Linked DNA regions of Homo sapiens: all the other regions are linked to region 2. The links are contacts of gene promoters, found by promoter capture Hi-C in blood cells and fetal thymus (Javierre and others, 2016). All regions are on one chromosome and are shown on one strand. Each heading gives the region's core, a stretch centred on a gene start or on the middle of the fragment in contact. The rest is flanking DNA. Distances are from core to core; before and after follow the strand shown. Region 1 has its middle 210 kb from the start of LYSMD4. Region 2 holds the start of ASB7 (ankyrin repeat and SOCS box containing 7). Region 3 has its middle 180 kb from the start of LYSMD4.

Region 1 (3,136 bases), core at 284-2,783, 660 kb after region 2:
AATTTAATCAAACCTTGGAGCTAAAAAATTTAGTTAACAAAATAAAACATACAATAGAAAGCTTAAACAGCAAACTAGATCAAGGAGAAGAACGAATCTTTGAACTTGAAGATGAGTCTTTTAAAATTAGTCAGAGGAGGGAAAACAAAGAATGAAAAAGAGTGAAGACAGCTTATAGGACCTGTGGGATGCCATTAAAAGAACAAATATTTGCATTATGAAAGTTCCAGAAGGAGAAGAGACAAAGATAGAGAAAGAAAGCTTATATAATAAATTGCTGAAAACTTCATAAGCCTTGGAAGATACATGGATATTCAGATACACAAAGCTCAACTTTTCCCAAATAGATTCAACCCAAAGAAGTCCACTCTAAGACACATTATAATTAAACTATCAAAAGTCAATGACAACATTTTAAAAGCAGTAGCAGAAAAATGTCAAGTCACATAAGGGAATGCCAATTAGACCATCAGTGCATTTCTCAGCACACACCTTGTAGGGCAGGAGAGAATGGAATGACATATTCGAAGTGCTGAAAAGAAACTGCTAACTATACTGCTATACTCAGCAAAGCTGTCCTTCAGAAATAAATGAGAAATAATCTTTCCCAGACAAACAAAAGTTGAAGGAATTTATTACCACTAGACCTTCCTTACAAGAGATGTCTAAGGGAGTTCTTTAAGTGGAAATAAAAGGACACTAATAACTAACATGGAAACATATGAAAGTATAAAATTCACTGGTAAAGGTAAATATATAGTCAACTCTAGAATATTCTAATATTGTTATATATAGTTCTATAAAGTATATATAGATACAGATAGTATAAAGGTTAAAGACCAAAATAGTCAAAGAAAAAAAAGCTATATTAAGAGATACATAATATAAAATGATGTAAACTGCAACATCAGAAATATAAATGAGGGAGGGTAAAAGTCTAATGTTTTTGTATGTGACTGAAATTAAGGTGTTTTCAGTATGAAATAGTCTATAGTTTTACGTAAGCCTTATGGTAACCACAAAGAAAAAAAAAGTATAGCAGATACACAAAGTAAAGAGAAAGAAATAATAATAGTGCTACAGAAACTCATCAAATCAAAGATGAACAAGAGAGAAAGGAACAAAGGATCTACAAAACAACCAGAAAACAAAAAAGTGGCAGTAGTAAGTCCTTACCCATCAATAATTACTTTGAATGTAGTAAGTGGATTAAATTCTTTAATCAAAAGACAGAGTGGCTAAATGGATTTTTTTTTAATAATAAGGTTAAGGATATGCTGCCTACAAGAGACCCACACTAGCCTTAGGGACAAACTGACTGAAAATGAAGGGTTAAAAGATATTTCATGCAAATGATAACCAAAAGAAAGCAGTGCAGCTATAATCACAGCAGATAAAATAGACTTCAAGTCAAGAACTGCCACAAGAAAAATGCACCTACTAAAAATGCAAAAATTAGCAGGGTGTGGTGCTGCACATCTGCAATCCCAGCTACTCAGAAGGCTGAGGCAGGAGAATCACTTGAACCCAGGAGGCAGAGGTTGCAGTGAGCCAAGATCACGCCACTACACTCCAGCCTGGGTGACAGAGTGAGAGAATTCATTAAAAAAAAAAAAGAGAGAGAAGAAAGATTCCAACTAAACACTAAACATTTAGCCTAATATTATGCCCCAAGGAACTAGAGAAAGAACAGATTAAACCCAAAGTTAGCAGAAGGCAGGAAATAATAATCTGAGCAGAAATAAGCCAAATAGAGAACAGAAAAACCATAGGGAAAAATTCAATAATAAGAGTAGGCTGGGCACAGTGGCTCATGCCCATAATCCCAGCACTCTGGGAGACCTAGGAGGGTGGATCACTTGAGGTCAGGAGTTCGAGATCAGTCTGGCCAACGTGGTGAAACCCCGTCTCTACTACAAGTACAAAAATTAGCTGGGTGTAGTGGCATATGCCTGTAGTCCCAGTTACTTGGGAGCCTGAGTCAGCAGGATTGCTTGAACCCAGAAGGTGGAGGTTGCAGTAAAAAAAGATCGCACCACTGCACTCCAGCCTGGGCAACAGAGTGAGACTCCCCCTCAAAATAATAATAATAATAATAATAATAATAATAATAATAATAATAATAGGAGTTGGTTTTTTGAAAAAAAAAAAAAAAGCCCTTAGCTAGACTAAGTAAAAAGGTGAATAGACTCAAATACATAAAATAAGAAATGAAATTGGAGCTATTACAGCAGAGATTGAAGTGGTAATTTAAAATCTCCCAACAAAGAAAAGCCCAGGACCAAATGGCTTTACAGATGAATTCTACCAAACTTTCAAAGAATTAATATCAACGCTTCCTTAACACTTCCAAAAAATAGAACTGGGAGAAATACTCCCTAACACATTGTATAAGACCAACATCACCTTGATACCTAAGCCAGACTAAGACACCACAAGAAAAGAAAACTACAAGCCAATATCTCTGATAAACATTGATGTGAAAATCCACAATAAAATTTGAGGAGCAAATTGAGTTCAATAACACATCAAAAATATTGCACATCATGATCAAGTGTCATGCAAGGCTGTTTTAACTTATGCAAACCAATCAGTGTTATACATCACATTAACAGACTGAAAGACAAAAACCACATGATCATATCAACTGATGCACAAAAATCACTCAACAAAGTTCAACGTTATTTCATAATAAAAAAAACTCTTAACAGTTTAAGTATAGAAGGAAAGTTCTTCAAGATAATAAAAGCTAGTCATCAAAAAGACACAGCTAACATCATAAACAATGGGGAGAAACAAAGCTTTTTCCTCTCAAATCTGGTACAGGGCAAGGAAGCCCACTCTCACCACTTCTTTTCAGCATAGTACTGGAAGTTCTATCAAGAGCAATTAGACAAGAAAAAAATAATAAAAAGATACCCAAATCAAAAAGGAAGAAGTAAACTTATCTCTATTTGAAGATGGCATAATCCTATATGTAGAAAATGCCAAAGAGTCCACCAAAAAAAAAAAACCTGTTAGATCTAATAAATGAATTATGTAAAGTTACAAAATACAAAATCAATATACAAAAATCTGTAGCATTTCTATATGCAAATAATGGTCAAACTGAAAAAGAAATCAAGAAAACAATCCT
Region 2 (2,986 bases), core at 154-2,653:
GCCCATCCACATTTGTCACACACAAACACACAGAAAGCCCAAAGAGTTAATTATGCCTAAGTGCTTCAGGGTAATAATGTTGTCTTCATACCATTCACACTCTTAAGGTACACAGGTTGGCTTTCTAGTAGGAAATAAAATCAAACTATTTTCTGAAACTCATAAATCTCAGGCCAATAATTTACCTTTCTCTACCAAATCGTTGTCAGTTAGATAACTCAAAAGATTTTTCTGATGCAGGTAGAAGAAAGGTGATAGGAAAGAGTAAGGGGGAAAACAGTAAATTGTGGTTTAATTAAAAAGGAAAGTCATTCAGAATTAACAAGCAATTAACAAGGAATTGAGGAATTCCTATGAGAGTAAGGAAGGGAGGGTAGCTACAAAAAGGTCTCAAAGCCTCAGAGCAGAGTAAATGGCACAGTGTACCAAAAGATAATGAAAAACACAGAAACACACTGTACAGAAAGAAAGTGGGAAAATACTGTCCTGGGTAGAGAAGTTATAAAATGTTAAGTATCAGGCACGGGTAATGTTTTTGTTTTTCCTGGGAAACTGGGGGTGGGGGTGGGGGGGGTAGGAAAGGTTGCATTCCCAGGCAACCACCCTGAAAATAAACCACTGCTTAATGAGGTAGGGGCCAGGAATAAACAACGGGGGAGGGGAGGGCTGGCTCATTACCTTTACAGACGATGCTGGTCAGAGGCACTGTGCCTTCTGCTTCTCTGATAGGTGGGCAGACCTCTTCCTGCTTTCGCGTCTTCTTCAGCCAGCTCAAACCTAGAAAAACAGAAACCAGTGAGTGGTGTAGTGTCTCAGAGGTGGGGAGGGGGGAGCTCAGGAAAGGGGCTGGAGAGTGGCAAGGGCAGGCAAGAAAAAGCAGAGATTTTCCTCCCTCCTACCCTCCCAGCCAGCACTCTTCCCCTCGGGGGAAGTAAAGGACTTTACCTGTCTCCTCAGCTGCTGCTTCTCTTCCTCCTTTCAGCCTCCTCTACACTCACCAACTTCTCCATTGAAGAAATACCCCAGGCAGGGCCGGACCCTGGTGTTCCTGATCCTCCTCGGTGCCTCACGGCCCCAGCCCGGCGAACATCCGAACAGCCGAGAAGGCAGGAGGTGGCGATCCCGGCCGCCGGGCAGCCTTGGGGCAGAGGTGCAGGGAGGCAGGGAGGAAGTCCTGGCTCGGGTGGGGGGGCAGTCCCGGTCCAGGGCTCGGAGCAGGGGGCTGCCGCGCTCCGGGCCGGAGGCTTCCAGCTACGGAGGGACCCAGGAGGTCTCGGGACGGCGAGGTCCCAGGTCATACGGGGCCCGAAGTGCCAGCCGTGGGGTCTCCGGACAGGGGGCTTTCGGGATGCACTTTGCACTGGGCCACCCCCGCCCCCTCCCTTCAGCACTTTGGGGTCACTGGGATGGGACCAAGCCTTCAACAACCAATCAGCGCCCGCAGTGGAGCCTGAGCCTGGAGCCGTAAACCAGGTCCGGGATGGGTGGGGGTGGAGGGAGTAGGGACGACTTGGTTGGTTGGTTGCTTCCTTCTCTCCTCCTTACCCCCGGCAGCCCCCACCCTCTGCCTGCCGTAAAGTTGCCTTTGCATTCGCGACAGTTAAGGGAGGCGTGCCGAACGGGGCAGAGATTCGTCTCCGATTGGTCTCACTCACTTCCCCTTACAGCTTCCCCGTGGTGGCTTCCGAGGCTCCGCCCCTGGCGGAGGGACTCAAAGCCGTTGCTAAGAGACACTATTCGCCGAAGGCGGTCTCTGCGCATGCGGGAGGAGGTGCCAGCTTGTACTTTCTGTGAACTACGGTGGCCCAGAGCGGGCATTTGTGTTCCCTCAAATGGCGGTGTGAAGAGAGTTCGCCTGAGCCAGATCCCAGGCAGGTAACCGGGACCGGCCGCCGTGCTGGCAGCAGGGGAGGCACGAGTGCGGCCAAATGAGAGCCTGGTTCAGGGCTTAAGGTTGGGAGGGCGGCAGGCTCCAGGAAGCGAGTAGAGGGGTGCCTTGTTTCTCCGCCCCTGTTCAGCGCTTGTCAGACGCAAGTGCCCGGTCTTGGCGCGGCTGTCGGTCCTTGAGACCCCGTTAGCTTCCAGGCTGGCAATGCCTCGCCTGAAGTGGGAGAACGGACTCTCTTTGGGATAGCGATGACGATCCAAGGACCTTCCTGAAAGGATAGCAACGTTGGCGGGTTCCTGTGAATGAATGGAGAGGGGTCGTGGGGAAAACGCGAGATAGACTGATCAAGACACGTTTGTTAAGCACTTTATTCATTAGCAAGTGTTTACTGGCCACTGTTCTAGTCCCTGGGGAGACAACAGTGAACAAGATAGTGATTTCGGGGAAACAAACACAAAATTATCAGATAGGGATGGGTTATATGAGGAAAATCAAGCAGAATGGTGGAATCGATTTTGACCAGGACGTGATGGGCTGTATTAGATAGGTAGTGCTATGGTGTGAATATCTGTCCCCTTCAAAACTCATGTTGAAATTTAATCCCCAATGTGGCAGTACTGAGAGGTAGAGTCTTTAAGAGGTGGTTGGACCGTGAGGGTTCTGTCTTCACGAGTGGATTGATCTATTCATGGATTAATGGGTTATCACGGAGGTAGAACTGGTGGCTTTTTAAGGAGAGACTTGACAACTCGTGAGCCTGCTCAGCCCCCTGGCCACGTGATACTTTGCGGTGCTGTCTCGTGGTCCGTCAGTCTTAGACTTCCCAGCCTCCAAAACTAGACAATAAATTACTTTTCTTTATAAATTACCGAGTTTTAGGAATTATTTTATAAGCAACAGGAAACGGACTAAGACAGATAGGAAAGGTCTCTGAGGAAGTGACATTTGAGCAGGGATCTGAATGACAAAGAGCCAGCCATGCCAAGATCTAGGGAGAGAATTTTGCCAGCAGAGAGAATTAGAAATGCAAAGCCTCTGATGCTAGAATATGCTTTGCTGTTTACAGGAACTGCCAGAAAGAAGGCTAGGGTAGCTGAA
Region 3 (2,897 bases), core at 157-2,656, 690 kb after region 2:
CTGCCTTTCCTTCTGTTCGTAAGCAGATTGCTACAGATGAAAGGCCAGATATCTCCACAGGTAGCTACTCTATGTTCACTTTATCTTGGGTAAAGTGCTAATTTACTGACCACAAAATGAATACATGTTGCCGGGTGTGGTGGCTCACAACTGTAGTCCCAGCACTTTGGGAGGCCAAGGCGGGTGGACTGCCTGAGCTCAGGAGTTCGAGACCAGCCTGGGCAACACAGTGAAACCCTGTCTCTACTAAAATACAAAAAATTGGCAGGGCATGGTGGCATTCGCTTGGAATCCCAGCTACTCAGGAGGCAGAGACAGGAGAATCGCTTGAACCTGGGAAGCGGAGGTTGCAGTGAGCCGAGATTACGCCAGTGCACTCCAGCCTGGGCGACAGAGTGAGACTCCATCTCAAAAAAAATAAAAAGAAAGAAAAATTGAACACATTTTTGACCATTCCCCTACCTGTTTCTTTCTTGCAACATGTGGATTCAGTAATGCAACTGTCCCCTCCCTCGTTCCCCTCCAGCCCGCTTTTCCCCTTTAAATACTGAAGCCCTCAAAATCATCTTTGGAAAAAGTCACGGATCACAGATTGTTCCTGTGGTTTTGTGTGCCTTTTTTCCAAGCATGTCCTTAACTTGGCAAAATAAACTTCTAAATTGATTGAGACCTGTCTCAGATATTTTTGGGTTTACAGCTTACAGATGTGAATCACTTGCCAAAGACACTGGCATTTAGCGAGCTCTCCTAGGCTGTAACCAGTATGTCAAACGTGAAGATTATTGTGTGTGATCGTTTGGATTCCTTGTTATGATGTATTTTATAAATGCACTAGTTATATCTTTGCTGATGTATTTTTGCTGATCTTTCGTAAGGTGGAACTTTTGTCTAAATGGTATATATTAAACTGTATTGAGTGTTACAAAACCAATATTCTATGGAGAATGAAAAAATAATGGACTAAATTAACTAGGGGGAGGAAAAGCACGAGTCCTGGGTTGCAAGGACCAAGTGAGGCATGGGCGGAGCAGGTTGTATTCGGCAGGCCCAGAAGAGGGAGCCCCACGACCTGTCTGCCTGTCCCTCTCGCTCTCCTCCAAGACAGACTGCCCTTGAGTTTCCACTTGACCACACTAGATTAGGTTTCTAAAGCAATGTGCTCAGGACTTTTCTTCATTCCCTCCTCCACCCTTAGAGAAGCAGACTCCAGCCAGCAAAGTAAAAAAAAACCTCAACCCCAAGTGTTGTGTATTCGGATCTCCAGAAACAACCAAACAAACAAACAAACACCACTTCAGGCATCAGGGGAATAAAATGGAGAGAACTCGGAGGGCGGCCCAGTTGAGGGCAGACATGGTCCCATAAAAGGCATCCCTGGGCAGGGGGCCGGGGGCCTGGGAGGATGGAGACACCTGAACCTCATGCTTGGAAAAAATGAGAAATAGCTCTTGATAGAGGGGCCAGAGCGTGGAGCAGGGCGGGCTGGGGGGGGCCTGACCTACGCAACAGGAAGCGGCCTGCCCACCCTCTCCACTGCCATGCTCCCCAGCACAGGTGGAAAGGAAAAGGGCTACAGAGTCTGCAGATTCTTTGTTTTTTAAAAGCCCAAGCAGCTTATTTTAAGTCAATAATGCCATGGCCTCAGAGCAAAGCAGACACTGCAGGTACAGCACTGGGAACACCAGGGGCCTGTATTCCAGGGGAAACCTGGAGCCTGGGAGGCACATTTCATGGGCAGAGGTGGGAAGGAGTCACCTGGGGCTGATTTCCATGGACCTGTGAGCCCTGAGCCCTCAGGCCTGGCTGGCTTTTTGTGGGAGCACAGCGCTTCCAGGAGCCAGCCAGCGAGGGGGCCTGCAGCCCTGCAACCCAAGCCCAGTGTGCAACAAGCAGCCAGAGGGCTCACTCTCAGAATGGGGGCTCAGCTGACCCGTCCCAGGACAGACAGCGGGCCTGTCACCGATCACGCTGTTGCGGTGGCAAAGTATTGTAAGGCCAAAGATTTGGAGCTCTGGGCCAGACTGCTGGCTTTGAATCCTGACTTAGACCTCTACTGTGTGACCCCAGGCGGGTTACTTCACTTTTCTGTGTCTCAGTTTCCTCCTCTGTAAAATAGGGGTGAAAATATGGGTCGCAATTTCTTGTTTACAATTCCAAAATCCAAAAAGCTCCAAAGAAATGATACATAAACACACACATACATACATATACACAGCCTCTTCAACTTAAGATAGGGTTACATCCACATAAACTCATTGTAAGTTGAAATGATTGTTAAGTTGAAAATGAATTTAATACACCTAACCTACCAAACATCATAGCTGAGCCTAGCCTACCTTAAACGCGCTCGGAACACTGACATTAGCCTACAGCTGGACAAAATCATCTGGCAAGGCAGTCCACTGTGGAGTATCAGTTCTTTTTTTTTTTTTTTTTTTGAGATGGAGTCTTGCTCTGTCTCCAGGCTGGAGTGCAGTGGCGCAATCTCGGCTTACTGCAACCTCCACCTCCCAGGTTCAAATGATTCTCCTGCCTCAGCCTCCCGAGTAGCTGGGACTACAGGCACATGCCACCATGCCCAGCTAATTTTTGTATTTCTTTAGTAGAGATGGGGTTTCACCATGTTGGACAGGATGGTCTTGATCTTTTGACGTCGTGATCCACCCGCCTCGGCCTCCCAAAGTGCTGGGACTACAGGCATGAGCCATCCCGCCCGGCCGCAGTATCAGTTCTTTACCCTCCTACTTGAGTGACCGACTGGGAGCTGTAGCCACTGCAGCTGGCCAGCATTGCAAGACGGTCTTGTACCACACATGGCTAGCACAGGAAAACACTAAAATTCCAAATTTAAGTTCAGTTTCTATCGAATGCATATCACTTTCACACCATTGTAAAGT

Evidence for each region. The method cuts DNA at HindIII sites, captures the fragments that hold promoters and counts their contacts. A CHiCAGO score of 5 or more calls a contact.
Region 1: a contact is called between a fragment that was not itself captured here and the fragment with the promoter of ASB7 in region 2, in 8 of 17 cell types (naive CD4 T cells, naive B cells, total B cells and 5 more). The highest score is 11.1, in naive CD4 T cells.
Region 3: a contact is called between a fragment that was not itself captured here and the fragment with the promoter of ASB7 in region 2, in 1 of 17 cell types (naive CD8 T cells). The highest score is 5.1, in naive CD8 T cells.

Annotation. Positions count from the first base shown.
Region 1 is chr15:99,939,189-99,942,324 of GRCh38, reverse strand. No RefSeq gene overlaps it. Among named protein-coding and RNA genes, the nearest start is that of LYSMD4, 210 kb to the right of the region's middle. The HindIII fragment of the contact is 2,540 bases long and covers 264-2,803 here.
Region 2 is chr15:100,601,006-100,603,991 of GRCh38, reverse strand. ASB7 (ankyrin repeat and SOCS box containing 7) reads right to left here and starts at 1,403. Exons shown (of 6, transcript NM_198243.3): 1 at 946-1,403; 2 at 679-777. It overlaps LINS1 (lines homolog 1), which reads left to right and starts at 1,808. Exons shown (of 7, transcript NM_001040616.3): 1 at 1,808-1,871. RefSeq lists silencers at 621-670, 1,121-1,380 and an enhancer at 1,551-1,890. The HindIII fragment of the contact is 6,685 bases long and covers 1-2,986 here.
Region 3 is chr15:99,908,291-99,911,187 of GRCh38, reverse strand. No RefSeq gene overlaps it. Among named protein-coding and RNA genes, the nearest start is that of LYSMD4, 180 kb to the right of the region's middle. The HindIII fragment of the contact is 6,298 bases long and covers 1-2,897 here.